Linked DNA regions of Homo sapiens: all the other regions are linked to region 1. The links are contacts of gene promoters, found by promoter capture Hi-C in blood cells and fetal thymus (Javierre and others, 2016). All regions are on one chromosome and are shown on one strand. The core of a region is centred on a gene start or on the middle of the fragment in contact, and the rest is flanking DNA. Distances in the headings are between cores, read along the strand shown.

Evidence for each region. The method cuts DNA at HindIII sites, captures the fragments that hold promoters and counts their contacts. A CHiCAGO score of 5 or more calls a contact.
Region 2: a contact is called between a fragment that was not itself captured here and the fragment with the promoter of MRPL42 in region 1, in 1 of 17 cell types (fetal thymus). The highest score is 7.2, in fetal thymus.
Region 3: a fragment that was not itself captured here is called in contact with the fragment with the promoter of MRPL42 in region 1 in 1 of 17 cell types (naive CD4 T cells); the score reaches 5.2 in naive CD4 T cells.
Region 4: a fragment that was not itself captured here is called in contact with the fragment with the promoter of MRPL42 in region 1 in 1 of 17 cell types (total B cells); the score reaches 5.3 in total B cells.

Annotation. Positions count from the first base shown.
Region 1 is chr12:93,464,844-93,469,852 of GRCh38, reverse strand. It overlaps MRPL42 (mitochondrial ribosomal protein L42), which reads right to left and starts at 2,339. Exons shown (of 6, transcript NM_014050.4): 1 at 2,299-2,339; 2 at 498-661. The coding sequence starts at 567. RefSeq lists enhancers at 2,118-2,387, 2,448-2,507. The HindIII fragment of the contact is 2,939 bases long and covers 1-2,558 here.
Region 2 is chr12:94,074,742-94,079,750 of GRCh38, reverse strand. No RefSeq gene overlaps it. Among named protein-coding and RNA genes, the nearest start is that of PLXNC1, 71 kb to the left of the region's middle. The HindIII fragment of the contact is 3,902 bases long and covers 154-4,055 here.
Region 3 is chr12:92,907,141-92,912,149 of GRCh38, reverse strand. All of the region lies in intron 1 of EEA1 (early endosome antigen 1), which reads left to right. Among named protein-coding and RNA genes, the nearest start is that of EEA1, 20 kb to the left of the region's middle. RefSeq lists a silencer at 2,770-2,970. The HindIII fragment of the contact is 180 bases long and covers 2,829-3,008 here.
Region 4 is chr12:92,942,415-92,947,423 of GRCh38, reverse strand. No RefSeq gene overlaps it. Among named protein-coding and RNA genes, the nearest start is that of EEA1, 16 kb to the right of the region's middle. The HindIII fragment of the contact is 207 bases long and covers 2,693-2,899 here.

The DNA.
Region 1 (5,009 bases), core at 1,090-3,589:
CCTTTTACCTCTGCATTTATGCATATGCACACATGCATATGATGGATCATCTTTTAAACATACAAATAAGATCATATGATAGATATATATAGATGTGGTTCTGACATGCTTTTTTTGTTTCTATTTGGAGATCTTTCCATGTCAGTAACAGCTACATGACAGTCACAGTTCAGATGTACCATAATTTATCCATTCCCCTCCCCAACCCACATTTTTTTTTAGAGGTGGGGGTCTTGCTATGTTGCCCAGGCTGGTCTCAAACCCCTGGCCTCAAGCAATCCTCCCACCTCAGCCTCCCAAAGTGCTGGGATTACAGGCATGAGACACCACATCTGACCTATCCATTCCCCTTCTGACTGACATTTAGGTTTTCTCCCACTTTCCATTGCTGCAAACACTCCTGCAAATTACAGGCATATACAATAACTAAATGCTTTAAATTTTCTTAATTCTTAAAAGTTTAAAAGTTTTTAAACATTAAAAAAAATTTCACTTACTTTGGACTGGAAATAAATGTTTCAAGATAGTTCTCTTTGACATCACCCATTTTACTGCAGCTACAGCCATGGTGTTTCAAGATGCTTATCAAGTGGTATGAAAAAAGATGTTCTGAAGAGAAACTGCTTTTAGAATCTGCTTCTAAGCATACCAATTTCTACTCCTGCTGAAGAGATAAAGAAAAATCAGTGCTACCTATGGTAAATTTAAGTTATATTAAACACCACAAGAACAAGGTAAGAATCACTGCCTAGAAGTCAACTGAAGCAATGCTTTTAAACAACTTGGCAATTCCACATGATTGAACAACAGGACGAAGAGCGACATGGACAGAATATAAGATCAGAACCACTGGAACTATGTCCATTACTATTTATCTTAGATACAAACTTCTCTGCAGGACCCAGTGCAGCTCCTTCCACTTAATGAATACTCAGTAAATGTGTAATTACTCTTGAAACAGTCACTCACAAATGGTACACAGAGTATTCATTCTTTTAATGCTAGTGTGGCTGTGTACACCCTCCAAGGTTCCATACACAAGATACTACATCATTTACAGTACTATCCTGTTTCTGATTAAATGAAATAGTTGTCTGCCCTGAGCCATTAATAATAATAATAATAATAAAGAAATATCAAACAAGGCCTATCCTTAGCCTATTACTCAATTGGAGGAACTCATAAATGCCCTCAAGTCCCAGATAAAATTTCACCATCTTATATGTGTACAAAGTCTTTAACTTTCCAACGTACTTTCACCACCATTTCATTTTGCTCTCGTATTAATCATGTGAGGTATCTTTATTCTGATTCATGAAGAAACTAAAGTACAAAATTTAAACGTCTTGCTTCCAAGGACTTTAGAGTCAGTCACTGCCAAATTGGGAAACTTTAAACAAGTCATTAACTAAACGATCCTCAGTTTCTCCAATGACAAAATGGGGAAAACCACAATCTTCATGGCCTGTTGTGAATAAATGACAAATAACCATTGTTAAATCTTGTTTTTAATAGTCTTCAATGAGTATCCGTGCCCTTCCCCCCAATAGTGATAAAAGAGAATTAGGACACAGGCCCTCTTATTTGCTAGTCTAAACCACTCACACTGATACCTTGCACTGCCAGTACATTAACACCGTTAACCCTGAGCTCATAGGTGTGCTTTTTAGTTTACAACCCACTTTCATATACAATATGTGCTCTGACTTTCACAAGTGTGTGAAGCAGCATCTCCATTTCAGATTAAGAACAAAGGCTCAGAGAGGTCAATCGATTACTTGCTCAGTATATCGCTGCTTAATACATGCGTGGGACGTAAACCCATGACTTCTGACCACGAATAAAACATCTTGGGGGAAATTAGGTCCCCTCTGTCCGAAGCCCAGAGAAAAGCACGCCCTGCTGGGAGTCAGATTATTCACCCCAGGAAGATCATTTCAGAGATCAAGTCCCTCAGCCCGGAATTCAACCCCAAAACAAAAGCTACAGAGCCTCTGAGGGTCAGAGGTTTGAGGAACAGGCTACCAAGAGCACCAGAACTCTTCGACCTAAAGGAGTCCCTAGAGCCACAAGCTGCATCACCTCCCCACGGGCGTCCGCCAGGGAACAAAGGGGGCGCTATAAGAAACGCGCAGCCACATGCCGGCTCTTCTGCAGGAAGGACAAAGGCTGGGGATGCAGGCAACCTCGCCCTGCCGGGAACGACAGGCGGGAGACCTCTACAACTGCCGACCAACACTGTGGGACTGCCCAGTTTCGAGGAAGTCCTCGACAGGAGGAGTAGAGGGAAGCGGTTACCTTGACGGCTTCTCACCACGAACCCGCCATCTTGTTTCAATCCTGGTCCCACGAAACAGCGCTGCGCGCGCCGTCCCAGCCCGCGGGGCATTCTGGGAAATGTAGTCTCCGCGGGAAAGCGGCCCGGGTGCAGAGAGAAAGGGAGGATTGTTGCTATGGACTTTTACCTTTAGTTGGGGAAGCGTGGCCGCAGTGTTACTAAGGTGCCCAGAAAAACAAAATCACTGCCCCAAACACATACCCTTAGAAAGTAACAAGCTTTTTTTTTTTTTTTTTTTTGTGAGGCAGTCTCATTCTGTCACCCAGACTGGAGTGCAATGGCTCCCTCACGGCTCACTGCAGCCTCTACCTCCTGGGCCCAAGAGAGCCTCCCACCTCAGCCTCCTGAGTAGCTGGTACTACAGGCGCACACCACCACACCCAGCTAATTTTTTAATATTTTTGTAGAGACGAGGTCTCGGTATGTTGCCCAGGCTTGTCTCAAGCAATCCTCCTGCCTCGGCGTCCCAAAGTGCTGGAATTACAGGCATGAGCCACCATGCAAACCTATAAGTACTTTTTAAAAAAATTATGTTAATATTCAGAGAAATCGTAGATTGCTCTTTAGTAGATGAGTTAAAGTTTCCCAGGGGAAGAGACATTCCAGAGAAGCCCTGAAATGTGGAGGCTAGGATTTGGACGTTTGAAATCAGAACCTGAAGAGAACCTCCACTCTGAAAACCTGGCACTGTGCCCTCAGAACTGTGCTGGCTACCTATTATGGGAGGAAGTAAATATGCAGAATCTTGGACCTCGCTTTCCATCTTAGGAGGAAGGAAAGACCTCTGGGCCTTTGCACTCTCTGTTCCCATTGCCAGCAATGTGCTTCTCTGACCTCTTCTCATGACCTTACAGGTCTTTCTCAAATATCATCTTAGAAAGGACCACACCATTAAAATAGCCTCACCCACCCTTATTCCATGCCCCGCTTTATTTTCCTTCAGAATATTTACCATTACCTGACTTTATATTGATTATTTGTTTGCTCGTTGAATGTCTCTTTCTTTTTTTTTTTTTTTTTGAGACGGAGTCTTGCTCTATCGCCCAGGCCGGAGTGCAGTGGCATGATCTCAGCTCACTGCAACCTCCGCCTCTCAGCTTCAAGCGATTCTCCTGCCTCAGCTTCCTAATTAGCTGGGATTACAGGTGGCCACCACCACGCCCAGCTAATTTCTGTATTTTTAGTAGAGATGGGGTTTCGCCATGTTTGCCCGGCTGATCTCGAACTCCTTACCTCAGGTGATATGCCCACCTCGGCCTCTCAAAGGGCTGGATTACAGGCGTGAGCCACCACACCCAACCTCGTTTAATGTCTCTTATGCTGGATAATGTAAGCTCCTTGAAGACAGAGACATATGTCTATCTTGTTCTTCACTGTATGCAAACCCAGCATCTCAGACTGTGCTTGGTCTCATTATAGGTCTCCAGGAAGTGTTTGCTGAATGAATGAAAAGACTAGATAACGCTGCAAGTATCCAAGACAGTAGATGATTGGCTGGTAAAGCAGAAGCGGTCGCCTGGAAATTCCCTTCTCCCATGATTTGCAAAATTTTGCTTTTGTATATTTTTCTAAGAAATAATCTATAGCTTTTATTATGTATTCCAGGGAATTGATAAACCCCTCAACAAGTTAAGAACCATATTCCTGAAGTGACTAGTATTGAAAGTAAGTGAACACACATCACATAGTAAAGAAAACTAAATACGGGCTGTGTAGTGTGTCTCCTCATTTCCCACGGAATATCAGGAGGCTAATCTTTGCTCTTATAGAAGCCCACAGAGGGCCCATCTGTGTCCTTTCCAGTCGTGTCCATCCTCCAAAGCCACCCATGATGTCTTTCTGGACTGTGCAATAGGAAGGGACAGAGAGGAGAAACAGATTTGAATGAGCAGTCAACTGGACTGGTTGAACATTCCCTGCGTAAAGTGTAAGAAGAATGGATCAAAGATAATTCCAGAGGTCAAGTCTTGATGGCTGTGAGCAGAGTGGGACCAGTCCCCAACAGGGAGACTCACTTAGTGGGACCAAGGAAGGTCTCACAAAGCTGAGACCAGAAAAGAAACCAACATTTTTGGGGGAAGAGAGGGGAGAGACAGGTTTAGGCTGAGTGAGGGAACAACTTACACAAAGGTTTAATGTGGTGGAAATAGCTTACCATATACTGGAGTAGGGTGGATAGTGTGGATGAGAGCGGCAGGAGATGAGATTTGGAGCCAGGTCATGTTGGGCTTCATAAGCCTTGGAGGGGTTAACATGGAGTTAGGACACAGGACATATGTAGAGATTAAATAGAGTAGGTGGTGCTGTGTGCCTGTAGTCCTAGTTACCCTGGGAATGGGAGGCTGAAGTGGGAGGATTGCTTGAGCCCAGGAGGTCAAGGCGGTAGTAAGCTATGATCGTGCCGTGCACTCCAGCCTGGGTGACAGAGTGAGCCCTGTCTCTTGAGATTTTTACATGAAAGAAGTGACATAATTTGATTTCCATTTTTAAAAGGTTACTCTGGCTGCCCTGGGAGGAGTGGTTTGGAGAGTGGCAAGACCGCAGGCAAGTCTAGCAAGGAAGCTACTGCAGTACTGCAGTCAAGAAATCATGTGATGGAGGGTGGTGGCAGTGGAGATGGAGAGACAGGAAGAGTCCAGATGTATTTTGAAATTGGAAGTGATGACTTAAC
Region 2 (5,009 bases), core at 855-3,354, 610 kb before region 1:
TGAGGCTCTGTTCACAACATTTTCATCAACAGATCGGCACATAATCCTATTTTATGCATATTTCTGTCTAGAGATACCTTATTTACCATATACTCTTGATTCATTAGCATTAAACTCCCAACCAATGGCACTAACTCATGCCTGAAAGAAGCTTATTGAATGCCCATATTTTCTCCATAAGGCACAGCTTTTTGGGCTTAGGAACACTAGACAGCACTTCGGCATTTTGCTTCAGGCAATTTTAAACAGCGAAATCACCAACGAAATGCACAAACGTGAAAAATGTGACGCTAAATATTCTGCGAAAAGGACACATTTATAGTATGAGAGTTGAAACAGGAAGGCAGAGCATTGCCTTGTTTAACCTCAGCTGGGGACAAGTGTATCAGGAGGATCCAGTTTTTTGACACTCTGAACAGGTGCCCATCCAGGAATGACCATGAAAGCACCGTGATTATTGATTTTAGGGTCACAAATGCATTTTAGTGAGTAGGCAAATTTGCAAATACAAAATCTGTGAACAAAGAAGATAGACTCTACTTTAATCCTTTCTTTCCCCACCCACCCCATTCCTCTTCATCAGCAACATTTCAACAATCTCAAGTGTTTGTTAAAACACAAAAACAGCAAAACACTATCTCCCTTTACCTCCTGCTCCCCTCCAATTACTGTCTTATCTCTGTGTCTCCTTAGACAGCATTCTTGCCAGAGGACATCATGCCTCCACCTTGAACTCCTCACTGTCCCCGGGTGGTCTCACCCATTCCCATGGTTTCAAATAGACGAACTATGGGCCAATGACTCAAATCTCAAGTCTTCATCTTGAACTCAAGGCTCATATCTAGCTGCTAACTGCGCATGTCCACTTGAAGGTCCCCACAGGCCTTCAATGTGTCCACATCAAGGTGTCAAAAGCTGAGCTCATTACCTGCCTCTCAAACTTCTGCTTCCTGGATTTCCTGAATTAGTGAGTGGTACCACCTTTCATCCAAGTTAGAAACCTGGAAATGAGATTTTTTTCCTCCCTTTCTCACCTGATCACAGAGTCTGCAGGTCTGCCATTCTAACATCTGTCCATGCCTAATCATTCCCCACTGCCAGTACCTTGACTCTGTCTTCTTTTATCTTTCACCAGAATTATTGCAATAGTTTTCCAGCTTGTCTTTCTGACTTTGATCTTGTCTTTCAACTACTCTCCTGAGAGTGATCTTTCTAAAGCTCAAATCTTATTGTGAAATTGCCCTGCTTAAAGCCTTTCAACAGCTCCTCATTGTCCTCAAGCTAAAATACAAACTCGTTATCATGGTTCTCCATCTTTGTGATCTGTGATCTGAATGGCATTTAGAACTCCTGCTGAATCTCTCACCTCCCGTTTCAGGCCTGGCCCCACCCCTTGGGTTCATCTTGACTGCAGTTTCCTGAAAACACTGCTTGCTCTTGCCCTCAAAACTTCGGAAGAGCTGGTTTCCTCTAAAACTCTCCACATCCTTATCATCCATCTGCAAACCTACTCAGCCAATTTAGATGTTGCTTCCTCCAGGAAGTCCTCCCTGATGTCCCCTATCCCAGATCAGATTTTCTCCTATGTATCTCTTCACCATGCCCTACCTACTCTTATTGCAGCATGTGTCTTGCTGTCTTGTGCTAGGAATCTACCATCTCTCTTTCCACCATTATGCTGAACACTCCTTATGTGTAGGGAACAGATTTTGTTTATCTTTAGGCCCCAGTTCCTAGAAAAGTTCCTGGTATATAATTGACAGTCAATAAATATTGGCTGAGTGAATACGTGCCTGTATCTGGCTCCTATTTTGGACTTCTTTCTCTTGAAGCTCCTTTAAAAACAAAACTACATAAAACAATAAAAGGACATTAAAAATTACTGTCTTTCTGCCAGGCACGGTGGATCACACCTGTAATCTCAGAACTTTGGGAGGCCAAGGCAGGAGGATCAGTTGAGGCCATGAATTCAAGACCAGCCTGGGTAATATGGTGAGACCCTGTCTGTACAAAGAATAAAAAAATTACCTGGGTGTGGTGGATTGTGTCTTAGTCCCAGCTACTCAGGAGGCTGAAGTGGGAGGATTGCTTGAGCCCAGGAGTTTGAGGCTGCAGTGGGCTATGATTGCGTGACTGCACCCCATCCTGCCTGGGTGACAGAGTGAGAACCTGTCTCAACAACAACAACAAAAATACTGTTCTTCATGAAAAGTATTCTAAGTCGGTGGCTTCCTTCACCTAGCCTCATGTCTTTTTCCAAAATAAAAATAACCCTGCTGGGAATGTTAATAGCTAACTTACCGAGCACTTGACTGTGTGCCAGGCACTTTACTATGCCCTTTGCATGTATAAATCATTTAATCTTCATGACAACCCTACAACTAGGTGTTACCCTTGTCCCTGTTTTACAGGTGAAGAAGCTGAAGAACAGAGTAATTTGCCTAAGGTCATAAGTCTCATACATGGTAGAATGTCCATTAATACTATCAATCCAACCAACACTACATAGATAGAAAACAATGTTTTATTCTTGTGAGAGCTTAAGAACCTGAAATTGTCCAACTGCTCAGAAATTGACTGGCTAGCTGTATTTGGACAGGGGAACTTGTATATTTCTGGGTCCTTTAGGTATTATGATGATTCTAATTCCTTTTCTCTTTCTCTTTGTGAATTCTTACAATAAGGGGCTGAGTTCCTGGGAAGTGGACCCAATAGTGCCAGGAATCTGATAGCATGTTCAGAACCAGCGTGTGCAAACATCCCCCAGAGGCCAGCTGGCTGAGAAATTCTGCTGCCACTGCTCTCTTGCTAATTTATTTTCCATTCACCTTGATCCCTTGTCCTGTAGAAATGTATTTGGGCACAACTAAAAGCCTCTTTCTTCTCACATCTTATTATATTTTTTCCACTTTGTGCCCCACCTGTTTTGACTCAGAGCTGCATGAGGAACCTGGGATTCTCAGGAGATGAGAATCCCAGGTTCCTCTATGGATGAGTGTAATAGTAGCTGTAGTAGTAGTAGGTGTAATAGTGTAATAGTAGGTGCCGTTTATTGAACACTTACTGTGTGCCAGCCACAAGAATTCCTTATAATTATTGAATTTAGTCCTATTGAAGTAGGTATGAGTATCCATTTTAGAGGTGAGGAACCCAAGCCTCAGATGGCTGAAGCGAGCTGCACCACATCTGTATTAGTTCCCCTTGCTGCTGTAACAAATAACACAAATTTAGTGGCTCATAACAATGCAAATTTATTCTTATGATTCTGGAGGTCAGAAGTTCAAAATCAGTCTCAATGGGCTAAAGTCAAGCCTGTGCAGGACTGTTCTTTCTGAAGGATCTAAAGGAGGATGTTTCCTCTCCCTTTTTCAGCTTCTAGAGGCCACTGCATTTTTTGTATTCCTTCCTCACACCATTCCAACCTCCACTTCCATCATCACATCTTCTCTAACTCTGACTCCCCTGCCTCTCTTCGAAGGACCCTTGTGATTATATCTGGGCCATCCAGATAATCTAGGATAATCTCCTCAACTCAAGATCTTTAATGTAATTACATCTGCAAAGTCTCTTTTTCTGTGTAAAGTAATCTATTTATAGGTTCCAAAGGATTGAGACGTGAAGCTCTTTGGGGGACTATTATTCAGCCTACCATACCATAAAGCAGAACTAACATTCCACTAGAAAGCCTACAGCCTTCAAAAGTGATTTTTCTTTAGTGAAGCCCTCTAAACGTATTAAATTCTATTAAATACAAGTCCCAGGTTTGGAAGGGGCCATGTGTTTTGCCTCTATATCTTCTGCAGCTAGAACAGGAATTCTTAGCACTGGCTATATGTTAGAATCACCTGGAGAACTTTTAAAACCTACTTAAGCTAGGATCTACATAAGATCAATTAAAATCAGAATCACTGGAGGTGGGGCTTGAACACTTGGCAGGTTAGAGCATGTCTCCAGGTAGTTCTAATAGGCAGCTAGCTTTGAGACCCATCATGCCAGAGAGAACTGCTGGCAAACGCTTACAACATGCCATGTTCTGGGTCCAAGGAGGAAAAGCTTGGCTATAAAGATGAATGGCAAGAAAATAAACTGGGAAAGCCATTTGTCCCTGGTTTAGTATCCTTGCTTGTGCCATTTCCTAGTTGCATGAGCTAGAGCAAGTTACTTGATTTCTCTGGTCTTTTTTCCATTACTAATAGCTCCCAAAAGTTGTGCAATGACTAACTGAGATCATGAATGAAGAGCCCTTAGCTGAGTGCTGTTAGGTCCCAATAGAGGGCAGTGCAGCCTTTTTTGCATCCCGCCCCCACCCAGCCTTCGGAACAGAGGTTCCTAATAATAGAATTCTCTTGGCTTTAATTTTCCAGCTCAGAGAAGATTAAATTTGCCTCCTTCTTGGTTATGTCTGACTTTCACTTCCTTCTTGGTGTTTTTCTCCACATCTCCCATCTGGGGGTCCTTCCGCACCTTTTAATCATGCTGAGTCTAGGGGGCAGCTGGAAAGACTTCTGATCTTCCAGGCTGCTTTCAGAAGGTCCCAGAATTCCCAGGATGTTACTAGGGTTTCTTGATTGATGTCAAGCAATTAAGCTGTAAACTGCAAAGGGTGACTTTCCTCCCTTAGAAGGAAATCGCTCATGGTATGTGGTTGGGGATGGAGAGCTGAGTTTTCCTTTGGGCTGATACAGTGAGAAGTCTAAAACATGGATGTGGTGGAGAAATGTTTTTAATGGAAAGAGTTCCCAGGGTTGGAAGGAAATGGAAGGAAGCGGCCAAGCTACTTCCTAGTACTGATTTGCTAATGTTGATAGTGCTTGGTGCTTCTTCTAATTCTTTGCTGCCCTCCTTTGCTTCTCCTAGTTCTTGAAGGTATTAGGAAGGGCAAAAGAGATGGAGATGATTCAGCAATTGGAACCGAGCACATTTGGCCCAGCAGGCTGTGCCTCTGACTGTGGGGCCAGGTTAATAGCATTAATGAAAAGCGTTCCCAATTGAGCGAGGGAGCAGGGCTC
Region 3 (5,009 bases), core at 1,669-4,168, 560 kb after region 1:
TTTGAGTAAGAACATTCAAAGAAGATTTTATGATGTCATTTGGGTTAGATTTCAGCAGTATTTGCAAAATGATCTTCTAAATCTTTCATTGCTTCTACATATATTAACTGAAATTTTTTCTGTAAAGAACTTTTCGATATCAACCAGGGCTATTTGGTTATCCCAAATTTCAGTGCATACTTGGAAGGCAGGATAAAGACTTAATTGTTTTTCATTGATTACTAAGTGTTAGAATAAGAGTTGGTACACTAGCTACTCCAGCAGTGATCACTGAGGTTTTCTTAGTTTTCTTTTGATTTTCTCTTTCTTGAGAAAAGGAAATTCATAGATTTGAAAAACAAGTTACTTTTTAGAGCAGTTGTAGGTTTACAATAAAATTGAGTGAAGGTTACAGAGATTTCCCATGTACTTCCTGCCCCTACACATGCATAGACTCCCCCATTATCAACATTCCCCACTAGAGTGGTACATTTGTTATGATTCGTGAACCTATGTTGACATATCATTATCATTTAGAGTCTGCAGTTTACAGTAGGGTTCACTCTTGGTGTTGTACATTCTGTAGATTTTGGGACAAATTTTTAGTATCTACCGTTATAATACCATACAGAGTACTTTCACTTCTGTACAAATCCACTGTGTTTTGCCTATTCATCCTTCCCTTCCCCTTAACTCTTGGCAAACATTGATCTTTTCACTTTTTTCATAGTTTTGCCTTTTCCAGAAATCCATATAATTGGAATCTTACAGTATGTAGCATTTTCAGATTGGCTCCTTTCACTTTGTATTTCACTTAGTAATATATGTTTAAGTTTCTTCATTGTCTTCATGGCTTAATAGCTCATTTCTTTTTAACGCTGGAGAATATTGTCTGGGTGTACTAGTAAGTTATTGATTCACCCGCTGGGGGACATCTTGGTCAATTACAAGCTTTAGCTATTATGAATAAAGCTACTTTAAACTTCTATGTCCACGTTTTGGTGTGGACAGAAGTTTTTAGCTCATTTGGGTAAATACCAAGGAGTGTGATTACTGAATTGTATAGTAAGAGTATGTTTAGTTTTGTAAGGAACTACCAAACTGTCTTCCAAAGTAGCTGTAACATTTTGTATTTCCACCAGCAATGAATTCCTGTTCCTATTTCTCCACATCCTTGTCAGCATTTGATGGTGGTAGTGTTCTGGATTTTGGCCATTCTACTAGCTGTGTTGTGGTATCCCATTGTTTTAATTTGCATTACCCTGATGGTGTATGCTGTGGAGCAACTTTTCATATGCATATTTGCCATCTGTATATCTTCTTTTGTAAGATGCCTGTCTATTAAGGTCTTTGCCTTATTTTTAAATTAGATTGTTTATTTTTTTACTGTTGAATTTAAAGAGTTGTTTGTATATTTTGGATAATAGTCCATTATCAGGTTTGTCTTTTGTAAATATTTTTCTCCAGTCTGTGACTTGTCTTTTTACTCTTGACAATGTCTTTTGAAGAGCTGACATTTTAAATTTTAATGAAGTCCAGCTTATTAATTCTTTCTTTCATGGATTGCGCCTTTGGTGTTCTACCTAAAAAAATAATGGACAAACCACAGTAATTTCTCCTATGTTATCTTCTAGGGTTTATAGTTTTGTGTTTTACATTTAGGTTTGTGATCCATTTTGAGTTTATTTATTTATTTTTTTTTGAGATGGAGTCTTGCTCTGTCGCCCAGGCTGTAGTGCAGTGGCATGATCTTGGCTCACTGCAACCTCCGCCTCCCGAGTTCAAGCGATTCTCCTGCCTCAGCTTCCTGGGTAGCTGGGATTACAGGTGCGCACCACCATGCCCGGCTAATTTTTGTATTTTTAGTAGAGATGGGTTTCACCATGTCGGTCAGGCTGGTCTTGAACTCCTGACCTCGTGATCTGCCCATCTCGGCCTCCCAAAGTGCTGGGATTATAGGTGTGAGCCACCGCGCCTGACCTTGAGTTAATTTTTTAAAATTAAAATTTAATTAATTTATTTATTTTTGAGATGGAATCTTGCTCTGTTGCCGAGGCTGGAGTGCAGTGGCGTGATCTTGGCTCACTGCAACCTCCACCTTTTGGGTTCAAGTGATTCTTCTGCCTCAGCCTCTCAAGTAGCTGGGATTACAGGTGGCTGCTACCACACCTGGCTAATTTTTGTATTTTTAGCAGAGACAAGGTTTCTCCACATTGACCAGGCTGGTCTCAAACTCCTGACCTCCGGTGATCTACCCTTCTCGGTCTCCCAAAGTGCTGGGATTACAGGCGTGAGCCACTGTGCCCAACCTAAATTTATTAAGGCGGGGTCTCACCATGTTGCCCAGGCTGGTCTTGGGCTCCTGAGCTCAAGTGATCCTCCTACCTCGGCCTCCCAAAGTGCTGGGATTACAGGTGTCAGCCACCATGCTCGGCCACAAGCTTGTCTTTATAACAAAGCCATTCCCATGATAACTGATCCATGTTCACAATAATGGCAATCCATTCATGAGGGTGGAACTCCCATGACCTAGTCACCTTTTAAAGGCCTCACTTCTCAATACCATTACATTTGCAATTAAATTTCAACATGAGTTTTGGTGGGGACATTCAAGCGATAACAGCTATCTTTTCTCATTTTATTGCCTTTGTTCCATTGTCAAAGATTAGTTGACTAACTCATGGATTTTTATATTATGAACTCACGGATTTACATATGTTTAGCATGTTTCAGTCAATTACAGTCAATGTGTTTTGCTGATGTGAAAATGATCTCAGCTTTAGCTACTGGGAGTACCTTCAAGGTGACGTTTGTCATTTTGACAGGACCTTATTTGTGTTCAAAAAGCTTCCTTGCTTTTTGGCACAATAATATGTTTCAGATTTATCTTGTAAATTCCCTCTCCCATGTCTGGAATCAGCCATTTCTCTAGAAAATTCTGGTTCCTTTGAGTGGGGAGTGATGGTTAGAGACCATAGTATAAGCACGTAGGGTGCGCTTTGCTTTTGGGTTGTCTTTGCTTTTAAGCTTTTGAATGATAAGAATTATTGTTAAGAAACAGGGCTGGGCGCGGTGGCTCATGCCTGTAATCCCAGCACTTTGGGAGGCCGAGGCAGGCAGATCACAAGTCAGGAGTTCAAGACCATCCTGGCTAACACGGCGAAACCCCATCTTTACTAATTAGCTGGGTGTGGTGGTGCACGCCTGTAATCCTAGCTACTCAGGAGGCTGAGGCAGGAGAATTGCTAGAACTTGGGAGGCGGAGGTTGCAGTGAACTGAGATTGTACCACTGCACTCCAGCTTGGGTGAGAGAGCCAGACTCTGTCTCAGGAAAAAAATGAAACAAAAACCCAAATGATAATTCAAATTTAAGATATAAAATGGTTTTTTACTTATTTGATTCTGTATTTATATCATTTTTTCTTATACTGAATATCTTGGTTCTTAACATTAGCAAATGTTTTTTGCTAAAATATACATAAATAGCTTTAAAATTAACAATATGAATATTATGGCTAAGATTATTGAATTAATTTTACTGTTTCTTTTTTTAGCAATTTTTTTTGGCTTTGTGCTATATCCCAAAAGGATATGTAGTAGAAACTCTGCATTCTTAAATACTTAAAATAATTATTTTGTCTGTATGGTAATGCCTGCAATATAATACTTATTTAGGTTTTAAAAAAATTTTTTTTAAATTATGACAAAATATACGTAATTTAAAAGATACAATTTTTACCATTTTTAAGTGTATAATCCAGTGGCATGAAATGTATTCACGTTGTTGTACAATCATTACAACTAAACTCCATACTCATAAAACAATAACTCTTCATTCCTCCCCTCCCCTGAACCCACTGTAACCACAATTCCACTTCCTGTCACTATGAATTTAACTGTTCTAGGTACCTCATATAAGTGGAATTATACGATAGTGATCCTTTTGTGTCTGGTTTATTTCACTTAGCATAATTATTTCTAGCTTCATGTTGCAGCATGTTATCAGAATTTTCTTCCTTTTAAAGGCTGAATAATATTTCATTGTGGATGTATATACTACCTTTTGTTTATCCATTCATCCGTTGACAGACATTGGATTATTTACATGTTTTAGCTATTGTGAATAATGCTGCTATGAACATTGGTGTGCAAATATCTGTTTTAGTTCATTTAGGTTTTAATTTTTGTTTGTTTGTTTGTTTGGAGACAGTCTCACTCTGTCACCCAGGCTGGAGCGCAGTGGTGTGATCTCAGTGCACTGCAACTTCCGCCTCCTGGGTTCAAGTGATTCTCCTGCCTCAGCCTCCCAAGTAGCTGGGATAACAGGTGCCCATCACCATGCCTGGTTAATAGTTCATTTAGGTTTTAACTGAAGTTCTTGATAAATGAGGATATTATTGACTAAGCTGGAGAACATAGTGAGGAAAGTAAACTTTTTCCTAGGATGGTAAAGTGTTGAGATGAATGAAGAGTTTGGTTTGGTTACAATGCTTTGAGAAATCCATTGCTTGATTTCTTAGTAAACAACTACAAATGTGGATGTAGAGGTATAGAGTGCTATATTAGGTCTCTTTTATCGTCCAGGTGAGAGATGATTGCAACATGAATTAAGGTAGTGGCCAAGGAGATGGAGAAAGGGGGATAGATTCAAAATTTAAGTGGGCAGTTGAATTAACTTGGTGATTGGATGTGAAGGTTAAGGAATAGAGACAAGTAAGAGTGATGCCTTGGATTTAGGCAAAATGAGTGTGTGATGGTTCTATAATCTGAGATGGAGAATGTAGATGGGTGAAAGCTTTGAGCAAAGATAAATGAATTTGGTTTTGAATAAGCTGACTTTGTGGTGCTCTCAAGGCATTCAATTAGATATATTTGGCAGGACAGGAAAATATGAATTGGAAACTCAGCAAAGGTCTGGATTAAAGTTAGTGTTTTATTATTTTCAGCAATGGTGTTAATGAAAATTAAGGGAGTAAATGAATTTACCTAAAGAGTATGTGATAAGCTAAGAGGTCAAGTATGAAAACTC
Region 4 (5,009 bases), core at 1,547-4,046, 520 kb after region 1:
TATGGTGAAATCTCTCTCCTAAAAATACTAAAATTAGCCAGGCACGGAGGCATGAACCTGAAATCCTAGCTACTTGGGAGGCTGAGGCAGGATCGCTTGAACCCGAGAGGCGGAGGTTGCAGTGAGCTGAGATCACGCCACTGCACTCCAGCCTGGCGACAAAGCTAGACTCCATCTTAAAAGAAAAAAAAAAAAGAACGAGGGGTTAGTAGATTTTCTCCAGTTTCTCCATGTTTTATTTCCTCATCACACGTCGTTTCTATTCATCTCTCCACAAATAGGTAGAAACAAGCTTTTCTCTGTTCAATCACCAATATGAGGGCTTGGGTGTCCTTTACACAGCTGATTTAACTTACATTTAAATGTACTTGGGGTTTGTTTACTTTACATTTCCCCCATTTTTCCTTTTAAAATAACTGTGGGGCCAGGTGCAGAGGCTCACACCTATAATCCCAGCACTTTGGGAGGCTGACACAGGTGAATCAGTTGAGCCCAGAACGTCAAGACCAGCCTGGGCAACATGTCAAAACCCTGCCTCTACCAAAAATACAAAAATTAGCAGGGCATGGTGGCATGCACCTGTAGTTCCAGCTACGCAGGGGGCTGAGGCAGGAGGATCGCTTGAGCCCAGGAGGTCAAGGCAGCAGTGAGCCAAGATCATGCCACTGCACTCCAGCCTGGGCAACAGAGTGGGACCCAGTCTCAAAAAAAAAAAGAGAAAAAGGTAAAAAGTTAAAAAAAAAATAGCTTGTGGTTTTAAAGGCAAATTGATCTGCATTTAAAAAATTTTTTTCTTTCTTTCTTTTTTTTTTTTTTTTTTGATGCAGTCTTGCTCTGTCACCCAGGCTGGAGTGCAGTGGCGCGGTCTCAGCTCACTGCAACCTCCACCTCCCGGGTTCACACCATTCTCCTGCCTCAGCCTCCCGAGTAGCTGGGACTACAGGCACCCACCATCATGCCCAGCTAATTTTTTGTATTTTTAATAGAGACGGGATTTCACCGTGTTAGCCAGCATGGAAAAATTTTTTCTTATTTATTTATTCCACACATACTTTTAAGTACATTCTATGTGCTAGGCAGTGTTCTAGGCATTGGGGATATAGCAGTGTACAGAAGTGGGAAAATGTTCTAATGGAGAAGACAGCAAACAAAGTAAATATATAAGATATGCAATATAATAGATAGTGATAATTGGTAAAGATGTAAGAGCAGAAAGTAAATTGTAGAAAACCAGATAGTGATGCAAATAATCATTGTGTAATATAAGTGCAAATAACCTTTGTCCCATAGAGATGCAGATGTTGTGAGGCTGGTAAACAGACTACAACCCAACAGTTAGTTTTATTACCCTATGCGGCACTAACCAGTTTTTATGTAATTTAGTAATCGTAGTCTAGCATTTTTGTTTGTTCTAGTATAGTCTAGCATTTGTTTTTTCTTTCAGTGACTACCTGTCCTATGCCCCTTTGAATTGGCTTTCTCCTGTTGTTGACTCTCTTATCTATGAGCTCTTTGATTTTGTTTTTGGATTTTTTTTTTTTTTGAGACAGGGTCTTGCTCTGTCAGCCAGGCTGCTGGAATGTAGTGGTGCAATCATGGCTCACTGCAACTTTGCCCTCCTGGGCTCAAGCAATCCTTCTGCTTCAGCCTCCTGAGTAGCTGGGACCACAGGCACATGCCACCACAGGTGGCTAAGTTCTTTTTATTTTTAGTAGAGACAAGGTCTCACTATGTTGCCCAGGCTGGTCTCAAACTCCTGGGCTCAAGCAATCCTCCTGTCTCGGCCTCCCAAAGTGTTGGGATTACAGATGTGAGCCAGCATGCTCAGACAACTCTTTATATACGTACTAGATGAGAGCCATGGTTTTAGCTTTTTAAAAATTATACAATGACACATGGAATGCACTTTATATGCTTCTGATTTGTTATACATTTTTTAATGAGCGAACAAAAACCTAAAATATATATACTAAAAATGAAACAATAGAGATAAAAAAACAAACTTCCTTGTGGATTGATTTTCTACATTCTAATGTTGATAGACTGTTAGGCATTAGAAATTAAAATTATGAAGACCATAGAGTTATATGTGATGAAAGCTTATGAGAATGTTTTTTAAAAAATATATAGATAAAAAAGTAAATAAAACATTTAAACTCCTAGAATAATATTGCCTCTTTACTAGTGTAACCAGCATACTAGGTATTTAAGTATTAGAAATCATTGACACTGCAGGCTCTCGAGTCAGGTTGTCTGGTTTTAAATCTTTGCTCAATCACTTCTTAATTTGGGCAAGTTATTTAATCTTTTTAAACCTCATGACTAGCCAGGCACAGTGGCTTAAGCCTGTAATCCCATCACTTTGGGAGGCTGAGGCAGGCAGATCACCTGAGGTCGGGAGTTCGAGACCAGCCTGACCAACATGGAGAAACCCTGTCTCTAATAAAAATACAAAATTAGCCAGGTGTGGTGGCGCATACCTGTAATCCCAGCTACTCAGGAAGCTGAGGCAAGAGAATCGCTTGAACCTGGGAGGCAGAGGTTGTGGTGAGCCAAGATCACGCCATTGCACTCCAGCCTGGGCAACAAGAGCGAAACTCCGTCTCAAACAAACAATCACAACAACAAAACACCTCATTACTTTTTACCTCACAGGATTGTTGTGAGGAATAAATGAAATAAGTAAGAAGCTTAGACGGTGCTACCAAATGCTTAGTTACAAACTTTCTGTTTAGTTATTTTTATCTTTGCAATGAAAAGTTACAATATATAAAGTAATACAGAGCAAGTAAATAACCAATGCAACTTCCTATTATCATAAATTACTTTTAAAATCATATACAATGTTTGCAAAGTTCAACAGAATGTTACTCAGTGTTGAAACATTCTTACCAAAGCTTCTTTAAAGTCAAAACATTGATTTTAAAAAGAAACACAAAGCTTCTTTAAAGTCAAAATATTGATTAATTTTTATCCACCAAAAGAGTCTTGTATTTTATCTTTATTTTATTGAATTACAGAACATTTTACAACCAACCACAGGTAAACTGTGTTGTCCAGTGAAACTCAGGTCAACCACAGGTAAATTGTGTTGTCCAGTGAAACCCAGGTTTCAACACAAACGATACCTCTTTTGCATGGGGAAAAAAAAAAAAAAAAAAAAAAAAAAAAACCTCAACAAAAAACTTCCTAAGTTAACTGTTGCTTAAGTTGCTTGAGTAAGCAAGTTAAAATATAAAGAAAAGCTCTGGCAAGAATTTCTTTAGAGGATTTACACTTAAACCAAATTTTAGTAGTTATTCTTCAAACCACAGAAACAAGACACGAAAATAAAAATTCAACAGAATGAAACAAAACAAGAGTAGATATGGCTCCCTCTACACTGTAGGCATAGTTATTCAAGCCAAGTTCCCACTAGAGGTCAGAAGCTACTATGCAAGCTTGAAAAATGACTTGGTGTTTCCGAATGCCTTCAGCTTTTAAAAATGGCTTGCTCTTTCCAAGTGTTTTCAACTTTTTAACTCAGAGCAAAAGGTACAATAGATCCCTTTAATCTACTCTACCTCACAGTATTTAAAATTTAGCAAGATTGTCAATATGGAGGGACAAATATATATTGTTTTTGTTTCTAGAGACAGAGACTCACTCTGTCGTCCAGGCTGGAATGCAATTGCTCCATCACGGCTCACTGCAACCTCAGCCTCCTGGGCTCAAGCAATCCTCCCACCTCAGCCTTCCGAGTAGCCAGGACTATAGGCATGGGCCAATATGCTGAGCTAATTTTTTTGGCATTTGTTGTACAGGCAGAGTTTCATCATGTTGTCCAGGCTGGACTCGAACTCCTGGACAAATATATTTATTAACCTAATAATACTGTAACTGCCCAGTGGGTTCTCCTTGCCCACTGTCCAAACAGAGATGATTTATTAAGACAGGGGAATTGGAATACAGAAAGAGTTTAATTCACACAGAGCGAGCTGAATGGAAGACTAGAGTTTTATTACTGAAATCAGTCCCCCCCAAAATTTAGAGACTGCATTTTTTTAAGGATAGTTTGGTGGGTAGAGGGCCAGGGAGTGGAGAGTGCTGATTGATCAGGAGGTGCCAGCTGATGCACCATAATGCAGGGTCTAAAAAATATCTTGAGCACCAATCTCAGGTTTTACAATAGTAATATTATCCCTAGGAGCAACTGGGGAGGGTTGAAATCCTGTGGCTTCTGGCTGCATGGCTCCTAAGCCATCATTTCTAATCTTGTGGTTAATATGTTAGTCTTACAAAGGCAGTCTGGTCCCCCTGGCAAGAAGGAGGTTTGTTTCAGGAAACTGCTGTTATCATCTTTGTTTCAAAGTTAGACTATAAATTAAATTCCTCCCAAAGTTAGTTTGGCCTGCACCCAGGAATGAAGAAGGGCAGCTTGGAGAGTGTAAGCAAGCTGGAGTCAGTCAGGTCAGACCTCTTTCATAATTTTCTCAGTGTTTATTTTTGCGAAGGTGGTTTCAATACCCCTAACTTTTCTACTTAAAATTACGATATATGCTATTTCAGACTTTTTCTTCAGTATATGAAAGGGTTTAAAGATTTTTGTCACTTCTCATAAAAAAACTAAATTATTTATTAGTTTTACATTTCTTCCCATCATGTTATGCAGTAACAACATATATAGCGCAGTTTCTTGAGTGAATTGAGGAAAGAAATATAGCTCAGAGCAATCTGAGCTATGTGAGGTCTGCAAGAGGTGCCAGGCCCAGAGAGACATGAGTATGTGACTTTAGTCACATCCTACAACCCCCCACCATCTTGCATCTATGCCCAGGGGTAATTGTTTTTTGTTTGGGTTTTTGTTTTGACACAGGGTCCTGCTCTGTTTCCCAGGCTGGAATACAATGGCATGATCTCAACTCACTGCAGCCTCGACCTCCCTGGCTCAAGTGATTCTCCCCACTCAGCTTCAAGAGTAGCTGGGACTACAGGTGCATGCCACCATGTCTGGCTAATTTTTGTGTGAG